Regions from separate parts of the Homo sapiens genome. Here region 2 is linked to region 1. Evidence: promoter capture Hi-C in 16 types of primary human blood cells and fetal thymus (Javierre and others, 2016). All regions are on one chromosome and are shown on one strand. Each heading gives the region's core, a stretch centred on a gene start or on the middle of the fragment in contact. The rest is flanking DNA. Distances are from core to core; before and after follow the strand shown. Region 1 holds the start of ZBED5 (zinc finger BED-type containing 5). Region 2 has its middle 16 kb from the start of MIR8070.

Evidence for each region. Contacts are between HindIII fragments. The CHiCAGO score rates a contact against its expected background, and 5 or more counts as called.
Region 2: a contact is called between a fragment that was not itself captured here and the fragment with the promoter of ZBED5 in region 1, in 3 of 17 cell types (naive CD8 T cells, naive CD4 T cells and activated CD4 T cells). The highest score is 8.3, in naive CD8 T cells.

What each region holds. Positions count from the first base shown.
Region 1 is chr11:10,856,013-10,860,462 of GRCh38, forward strand. ZBED5 (zinc finger BED-type containing 5) reads right to left here and starts at 2,041. Exons shown (of 3, transcript NM_001143667.2): 1 at 1,850-2,041; 2 at 132-245. ZBED5-AS1 (ZBED5 antisense RNA 1) reads left to right here and starts at 2,205. Exons shown (of 3, transcript NR_034137.1): 1 at 2,205-2,354. RefSeq lists enhancers at 1,707-2,086, 2,240-2,877, 2,387-2,476, 2,878-3,513. The HindIII fragment of the contact is 21,619 bases long and covers 1,175-4,450 here.
Region 2 is chr11:11,797,349-11,801,798 of GRCh38, forward strand. No RefSeq gene overlaps it. Among named protein-coding and RNA genes, the nearest start is that of MIR8070, 16 kb to the left of the region's middle. The HindIII fragment of the contact is 1,661 bases long and covers 1,489-3,149 here.

The DNA of each region.
Region 1 (4,450 bases), core at 791-3,290:
AAATTATGTCTGTCCAAATATAGCTACTTTTGATTTAAACTTTATAACCTGGCTATAGAGTAAGTTTTGTATTCTCATGTTAGATCTTGAGTCAAAATGGTTCTCCTATTAAGGGGTAGAGGATAAGATACCTGAAATAAGGTGTTCTCCTTTCTGTAATCCCTCTCTCCACCTTGGCAGCTTGAAATGCACTCTTCAAAAGAATAAAATTAAGGGATGGGGTGGGAAGGGGAGTAACCAAAAGCCTAGAATGAGAAAAATTAAAATTAGATACAGTAACAAGCAGAACTAACTATAAACCCGTAAGATGGGTTTATTCTTTCTGGATCTAAGCAGTGAAAATGATTCTTTACTGCAATGCAGATCTTGGACTGAAAGAGAAGACGCCTAGCATAGTAAAAATTCTAACATTTTCATCCTGTTCAATATCTTGGCAATTTAGATGCTTTGAGATGTTCCCCCACCTACTGACTTCATAGAAACATGTTAAAACAACACCACCACCACACTTTCTAGAACTTGAAACTAAGCCTAATTTTTAAAAGTACAACCTCATCAATGTCTCTAAAACTAGGTCTTGAATCTAAAATGGAATTATACATAGAACTATTACATGAAGCAGTTCTTTCACTACAATCATTTTTAGCCCCCCAGTGACCAATCTCCTCAGGTAAACAATGTCTAATGACTGATGATTGTTTACTGTATGCCAATTACTGCTAAATCCCTCATATAGATTATCTCATCTATGAAGACACAAGGATTATTAATAACCCCACTTTAGAGATAAACAGACACAGGTTAACACATCTCGCTAACACCTCTTGTAAGTGAAAAACCAAGTTCAGAGCCCAAAAAGTTTGACTGCATAGCCCATGTGTCTAGCCATTACTTGGGTGTTCCTGAATACTTTTAATTCCCCAACTACTAAAAAATCTCGTTACTAGGAGTTGGGTTATGCAGCGAAACGGATGAACAATGGATTATAACTGCCAGAAAGTCGAGGGTCTCATACTAGCAACAGCATAAAGCCCTGCTTCTTATTGGGAGCAAAAAAGCAGATTCTCCTTCCACAGTCTCCTTTTGGATTTTGCAACGGAGAACTCTGTGGAGCTGCTGGTTCACGTAAAAGATCAGGATCCCTCTCGTTGCCAGAGGACACAGAAGAGTAGGAAGCTTTTGTTTTCAGAAAGAAGGTCCTCAACCCCACCTCTTCGAAGGTGTTTCCCCGAATTTCTCGAGGACAAAGAATCTGGACTCCTTTGAGAGTAAAGTTTCCTTTCCACTCCCTGAAGAGCGGGGAAAACTTCCGTCTTTAGTCTCCTTCCGGTTAAACTGACAAGTATCACAATCCTTTCTCCCCTATCTTCGGGCGGTTCCGGCTGGGAACAATACCCTCAGGGTCAGGAGGACAGGATCTGAGTGCAGGCCAGCCAAAAAGGTGGGAACAGATGCTCCTTCCAACACCTAAATGCTTTTTTAAACGGTCACCTGGATGTGCAGCCAGGGCCAACTATCCCTCAGCTCCTCCCTGTCACAGGTGCGCGCTGCCCACAGATTGCCACGACTGGGGGGCTCCCTACCAGTCGCAGCCCACCCTCGCCTCAGGTCTTCTCTCGCGTCCCCGGGCGGCCGCCTGCGCTAACGACCACATGAAAACGTCTCAGCACCCAACACCATCTCTCTATTTCATCTCCATCAGCGATGGAGAGAACGGATTTTGCCGCGGCTGGGCTGCACAGCAGCGCCGCGGTCCACAGCAGAGCCCGCGACCGCCATCTTAGGCAGTTCCAGGAAGCGGCCATTTCAGAGCGCACCGCTTAGCCGCGGCGGCGGCTCTGCTTCTCACCTTCACCGAGGCCTGAACAGGGTCAACAGCCAGTCGTCGTGGACTGGAGGGGGAGGGGAGAGAGGGAGGGGAATGAAAAACAAAACAGAGAGGAAAGAAGGATTCGGGGACAGGGTGATGCTCTCAGCTCAGGGATATCGCCTAGGCCATCTCCATAGAGATCCGATTCGCGGCTGGCGCGGTCGCCGGTCTGAAGATAAATTTAGCACTCTAGAGCACCCGAACCCTACAATCTTCACGAGCGACTCTGCCGCCGCCCAATCAGCGCCAGATTTGCGTCCCGCCACCAATCCGCGCTGAGCAGCGGGGCGGGACCAAAGGAAAGGACCAAGCTCGGTTGAGGCGCGGCCCAGCCGCAGCCGCAGTCACAGCCTCAGCCGCAGCGGCCGTGCTACCTAGGTGATAGCGGAGCGGCTGGGTAGGAAGCAATTGTTCTCAAACTTCACTAGCCCCGTCGGCGCGGACGCTTGTCGAGAATGCAGATTCCTGGGTACTGCCAGATACGGTTGGTGATCTTGTAGGGCTGGAGTGGAAGCCATGAATCTGCATTTTCATCATTTCTGGCCCTCTGCCCGGGCTGGGGTGATTCACGGGGATTCGTAGTGGCCCCAAAGGAGCACGCAGAACCTCGGCTGCTGTGCATTTATCACCTCTTTTGTTCCCGGAGGCCGCACCCCAGGTCCAGTTTACACAGCTGCCAACTCCTTTTCTTGGTTCCCACTGGAATCTAGGAAGAAAACTCGCCCTTTACTTCTCCGCCCCACACCCGACGACGGAGTGTCTAGAGGTCTGGTCGGCCTTGGCTGTGCGGAGGGCTAGGCCTGACGAGCGGGCGCTGATGCGGCGCAGACCCCGCCGGACCTCTTGGTCGGCCCGGGGTAGGCTGGGGAGCCGCGGGAACAGGACTGGATAGGGAAAGCGGCACCGCAGCGTCCACGGGCAAGCTGAAAGTCCGCTTGATGTCTTTGCATCACAGTGGCGCCCTCCCCGCAGGAACGCCCGGCCGCCTGCACCGAACGTTTGCCTGCAGGGAACGGCCAACCCGCCCTGAAATACTCTTTTTGTGGGCTGCAGCTTTCGGGTATTTTAAGCCATGGTTCTGTGCCCTTCCTTGTTTTCAAAAACACCACAGCCAAAGGCTGCGGGTTGTGTGCTTTCATTTTGTGTTAAGTTCTGTGGTGGAGACCTGGAGTCTGTTTTTCCAAATAGGCACCTTGAAATAGATACGCTTCTTAAGCGGGGAAAGTACGAGTAGGTCCTATTATTTGCAATGTTTTAGCCTTTCCAGACTCCGTACAAATGACTAAATGAAGATTGGATCGTATTTTCAGGCACTGCACCAATGATAGAAAATTCTCAACTTGGGGTCAAAAGCAAGGGCAGCTTTCGTTTTTCTTAAATATGCTTCTGATCAAATATCTAAAGTGTTGAAAGAAACCTAACCCTTAATAGCACAATTTACAGGAGTGCATAATTTCCTAGGACTGACATTTAGTTCCAAATGTTTTAAAGTCAATTACAACATCATCTCACCCTATAGTAAGCTGTCCATATATTCTCATTATTATTTTTAAATTATTTCTATTAAATCAGCTTCATTTGAACTTTAACCATAAATGCATAAATCGTTTTTGGGAAGGGGGTACAGTCGCGCTTGAAGAGCAAGGGATTTTGTCATTGCGGGAGTTGTCTGGCTTCAGAATAATATTGGAATAATATATTTTCGTGTTTCATATTTTAGAAAAACCTTTTACATATGTGCTCCCAAACCAATCTTTTTTTATTTTTTATTTTTTTTATTATTATACTTTAAGTTCTAGGGTGCACAACTTGCAGGTTTGTTACATATGTATACATGTGCCATGTTGGTGTGCTGCACTCGTTAACTCGTCATTTACATTAGGTATATCTCCTAGGGCTATCCCTCCCCCCTCCCCCCACCCCACGACAGGCCCTGGTGTGTGATGTTCCCCACCCTGTGTCCAGGTGTTCTCATTGTTCTATTCCCACCTATGAGTGAGAACATGTGTTTGATTTTCCTGTCCTTGCCATGGGCTCCCAAACCAATCTTTACACATCTTGTTTACATCTTCATGAAGAGGGAAAACCCAAAATATTAAACTGTTAGGCAGAATAGTGTTTAAATAAGTACATCTAAAGTTTAGGAATTAGGTCCTGATATGATTTGACTCTGTGTCCCTACCCAAATCTTATATCGAATTTTAATCCCCACGTATGGAAGGATTAAAGTGATTGGATTATGAGGACGTTTTCTCCCATGCTGTTCTGATAGTTAAGTGAATTCTCACACGATCTGATGGTTTTATAAATGGTAGTTTTTCCTGTGGTCTCACATGCTCTCTCTCACCTGCCGTCATGTAAGACCTGCCCTGTAAGACGTGCCTGCTTCCCCTTCCTCCATGATTGGAAAATTTTGTGAGGCCGCCCAGGCATGTGCAGCTGAGTCAATTAAACCTCTTTCCTTTATAAATTACCCAGTCTCGGTATTTCTTTATAGCAGTGTGAGAATGGATTAATATAGGGCCCCAAATCTGAAGTGTCTCATAATTAAAGTTCATGAAACTTAACTTTTTTTGTAAT
Region 2 (4,450 bases), core at 1,069-3,568, 940 kb after region 1:
TGAGGAATCGCCACACTGTCTTCCACAATGGTTGAACTAGTTTACAGTCCCACCAACAGCATAAAAGTGTTCCTATTTCTCCACATCCTCTCCAGCACCTGTTGTTTCCTGACTTTTTAATGATCGCCATTCTAACTGGTGTGAGATGGTATCTCATGGTGGTTTTGATTTGCATTTCTCTGATGGCCAGTGACGATGAGCATTTTTTCATGTGTCTGTTGGCTGCATAGATGTCTTCTTTTGAGAAGTATCTGTTCATATCCTTTGCCCACTTTTTGATGGGGTTGTTTGATTTTTTTCTGGTAAATTTGTTTAAGTTCTTTGTAGATTCTGGATATTAGCCCTTTGTTAGATGGGTAGATTGCAAAAATTTTCTCCCATTCTGTAGGTTGCCTGTTCACTCTGATGGTAGTTTCTTTTGCTGTGCAGAAGCTCTTTAGTTTAATTAGATCCCATTTGTCTATTTTGGCTTTTGTTGTTATTGCTTTTCGTGTTTTAGTCATGAAGTCCTTGCCCATGCCTATGTCCTGAATGGTACTGCCTAGGTTTTCTTCTAGGGTTTTTATGGTTTTAGGTCTAACATTTAAGTCTTTAATCCATCTTGAATTAATTTTTGTGCAAGGTGTAAGGAAGGGATCCAGTTTCAGCTTTCTACATATGGCTAGCCAGTTTTCCCAGCACCATCTATTAAATAGGGAATCCTTTCCCCATTGCTTTTGTCAGGTTTGTCAAAGATGAGATGGTTGTAGATGTGTGGTATTATTTCTGAGGGCTCTGTTCTGTTCCATCGGTCTATATCTCAGTTTTGGTACAGTACCATGCTGTTTTGGTTACTGTAGCCTTGTAGTATAGTTTGAAGTCAGGTAGTGTGATGCCTCCAGCTTTGTTCTTTTTGCTTAGGATTGTCTCGTCAATGCGGGCTCTTTTTTGGTTCCATATGAACTTTAAAGTAGTTTTTTCCAATTATGTGGTGAAAGTCATTGGTAGCTTGATGGGGATGGCATTAAATCTATAAATTACCTCTGGCAGTATGGCCGTTTTCACGATATTGATTCTTCCTATCCAGGAGCATGGAATGTTCTTCCATTCAATTATTTGTCTATGAGTCTCATAATCCCCACCAGATTGTGAGTTTGTGGAAGGTGGGGGCAATGATTCATCTCAGAATTTGCCACAGCACTTGCCACAGCACTTAACACCTAGTATATGGTAGGTATTTATTGGCTTAATTTATTAAGTCTCTAAGTAAATGAATGTATTCGCCAAACTGACTGTTGGACTACTTGAAATTCACAGAGCTCAGAGCAGCTAAACCTTGAAAGTAGATAAAAATCACCAGGAGACCTGGCTCACCTGGGTCTCATTCTGATCCAGTCAAAGGTTGTCATTATGTACAGCAACCTTGCTTTTTGTCCCTGGGGAGCACTCCAGGCTAACCCATCCCACTGGCACCAAAGCCCTTTCCCATCATCCCCACCACACCCTGGAAGCTTAGAACATGTCATTATCCTCCCTCATATGTCAGTCCACAAGATGCCAAGTAGATCCCTAACACTCCTTGCAGTGATAACAAGATAACATAGTGACAAAGTACTTTGAACTTCACAGGTTCCATTCACCCTGCAGTTATGGCTATTACCGTGCCCAGAAGCCACCACCAGGGGGCTCCAGCATGTCTCTGAAACCTGGCTGTTCAGTAAGTCTATGAGAAAGACTGGAGGAAAACTCCGAAGTCTTAATTTCCATTCCCAAGACACAGAAATGCTGGACAATCCCAACTGACCCCCTCACCCGAGAGCACAGCCGGGGAGGGTCCCAGGGCCCAATGAGGAACAAGTGCTTGTCTTGTCCCTGCAGATTTGAGAATCCTTGGGTGAGAATTATGTGGATTTCAAGTTTTCTAGGAAGGACAGGGAAGGAGGACTGGAAAATCAGAGCTGGTAGTTCAAATTTTTAGTCAGATCTGGTTACTTTCTCCCAAGGCAAGTAACCCAAGAAAGTACCAGAAATCTTACACTAGCTCCACTATATTATGGTTTAGTAGTATTAGTGTCAACATTAACATTGTTGAAAAATACAATTGCAATTTTTTGAGCACATGCTATACAACAGGCATTGTACTTTTTTCTCTGTACATGATATCATTTGACCCTCACGTTGCCCCTGTGAAGAATTATGATTATTAGGAAACTAAGGTTCAGAAGAATAAGTGATATCCCAAGGTCACATGGCTTCTAAAGGCCAGACAGTCCAAGGCAGAGTGGAGCACATGAGCAAAGACACAGAAACAGGGAAAGCAAAGTATTCACAGTGCCCTACAAGCAGCTGGGTATTCTTGGAGAATAAAACAAGAAGGACATAGAGACAGAGACCACCTATCACAACACAGAATATACTGTTAGGCTAATGACTTTATCATGCAAATGACTGAAAGCCTTTGAAGAGTTTTAAACAGGAGAGTGACATGCCAGACTTATGTTTTAGGAACTGTGGCAGAGAATGGATCGGAGAAAATAAGACTGAAGGCAGGAAGACCAGATGGAAACTGTTGAAGTAATAAAGAAATGATGACAGCTTTGTGCCTTCTCCATCTCTTTTATATGGAGGGACAGCCCTGGAATAGAAAAATGTTTAGGAGGTAAAATCAGCAGGTCTTGGTGAAGTATTACATAAGGTGTCAGCCTACGGCATCTCCAGCCTATTCTCCCATGCCTTGGACTGACGTATACAATCATCTTGTAAATGACCCATGTCAAATTGTGCAGAGAATACATGAATGAACAAAGCAAAGTTTCTGATGACCTTCTAGTTGGAGCAGACAATACCAAATAAACAAGAAAAATATCCAACAGAGATAAGTGTTATGCAGACAATTAAAATATGGTGATGTGATAGGTGTCGGGCTCCTTTAGAATGAGTGGTCAGGGAAACCTCTCTGAGATGTCATTTAGACTTTCTAAGGCCATGTGAAAATCAGGGAAAGAAGTGGCTTACGAGGTTGAAAAAATCCAAAGCAGGCCAGTGAAGCTAGAATAGAATGGGCAAAGGAGAAAAGGGAATAAGGTAAGATTAGAGAGATCGGCCAGAGGCCAGATCACACAGGACTTTGGAAGTAAGGTTTGGGAACCTAGATTTTGAGTATCATGGGAAGCTTGTGGAAGGTTTTAATCAAGGGAATGACCTTATCTAATGTAAGTTGCTAAGTGATCTCCCTGGCTTCTGTATGAAAAATGAAGGCAGGGGAATAGCGAAAGCAGGGATAGTTGTTCCACTGAGAAATGATGGTGGTCTGGAGCAAAGTAAATGGATTACGGACCTCTTCTGATAGAGTAGAGTGGAAGGTAAGAGAGAGACGAATCAAGGGTGACTCTCTATTTTGGCTTGGGCAACAAGGATGGAGAAGCCATGAAGGAGCAATTTGACATGGAGAAATCAAGAGCTTTGTTTTGGACGTGTGGAGTTTGAGATGTCTACTAGAGACCCAAGGGAATATGCCAAGTAGGCAGCTGGAAATACAAGTCTGGAATTCAGGACAGAAAGTGCATATAGAAATGCACATTCCAGAATGATCAGCCTATAGTTGGCATTTAAAGTCAGAACACCAGCTGAGATTTCTTACTGAGTAAGAAAGAGCAGAGATGAGGCTGAGAAGTGAGCTCTGAGACATTCAAATATTTGGACGTCAGAAAAAAAAGAGGAGCTAGGGAAGAAGATAAGATGGAACAGCCAATGGGTGAAAAGAAGTCAAAGACTTCTGCAGTGTCCCCATAACCAAATGAAGAAAGTGGTCAAGAAAGGGAAAGGAACCAACTGTGTCAAATATCACTAAAAGTTCAAGTTGAAAGAGGACTGAGAACCAACCATCAGATTTTACAAGATGGATGCTATTAACGCATACGGAAAGAGATCTCAGGGGATTGGCAAGGACAAAGTTCAATAAGAGCAAATTAAAGGGAGAAAGGAAGTAAGGAAATGGCCTCAATGTCCCTAGGAGGAAAAACCACATGCCAGGGATGAGAACTCAGGGGTGGTATAGGGCTTGAGGAAGGTGGTGAAGGCTAAGGCAAGTAATGAGCTCTTGAAGGAGGAGCTAATCGCAGTGGCACAGTGTGTGTAATCTACACTTCTTCTAGCAGCAGGAGCAGCAGCCCAGAAGTAGGAGCTGAGAAGACAGAGGTCTCATACATCCAGAGTTAGTTTTCTGATGGATGAGTCCAGCCAAATGAGAGAAAGTGAGGGAACCCAGAGTTCTGACAAGGAAGTGGCTCAGATAATTAACCATGTGAGTTCACAAAGAAAAATGTGCAGGGCAGTACTTGTGGGATGGGACAAAAACAGGAGCCAAGGACTTGAGGACTCTTTGTGGAAGAAGAACAGGCAGGGGAGGAATGAGTACTAACAGAGCTGAATAAGAAGCTGGTCGGAAGGAGAGATTAAGGTAACAAGACCA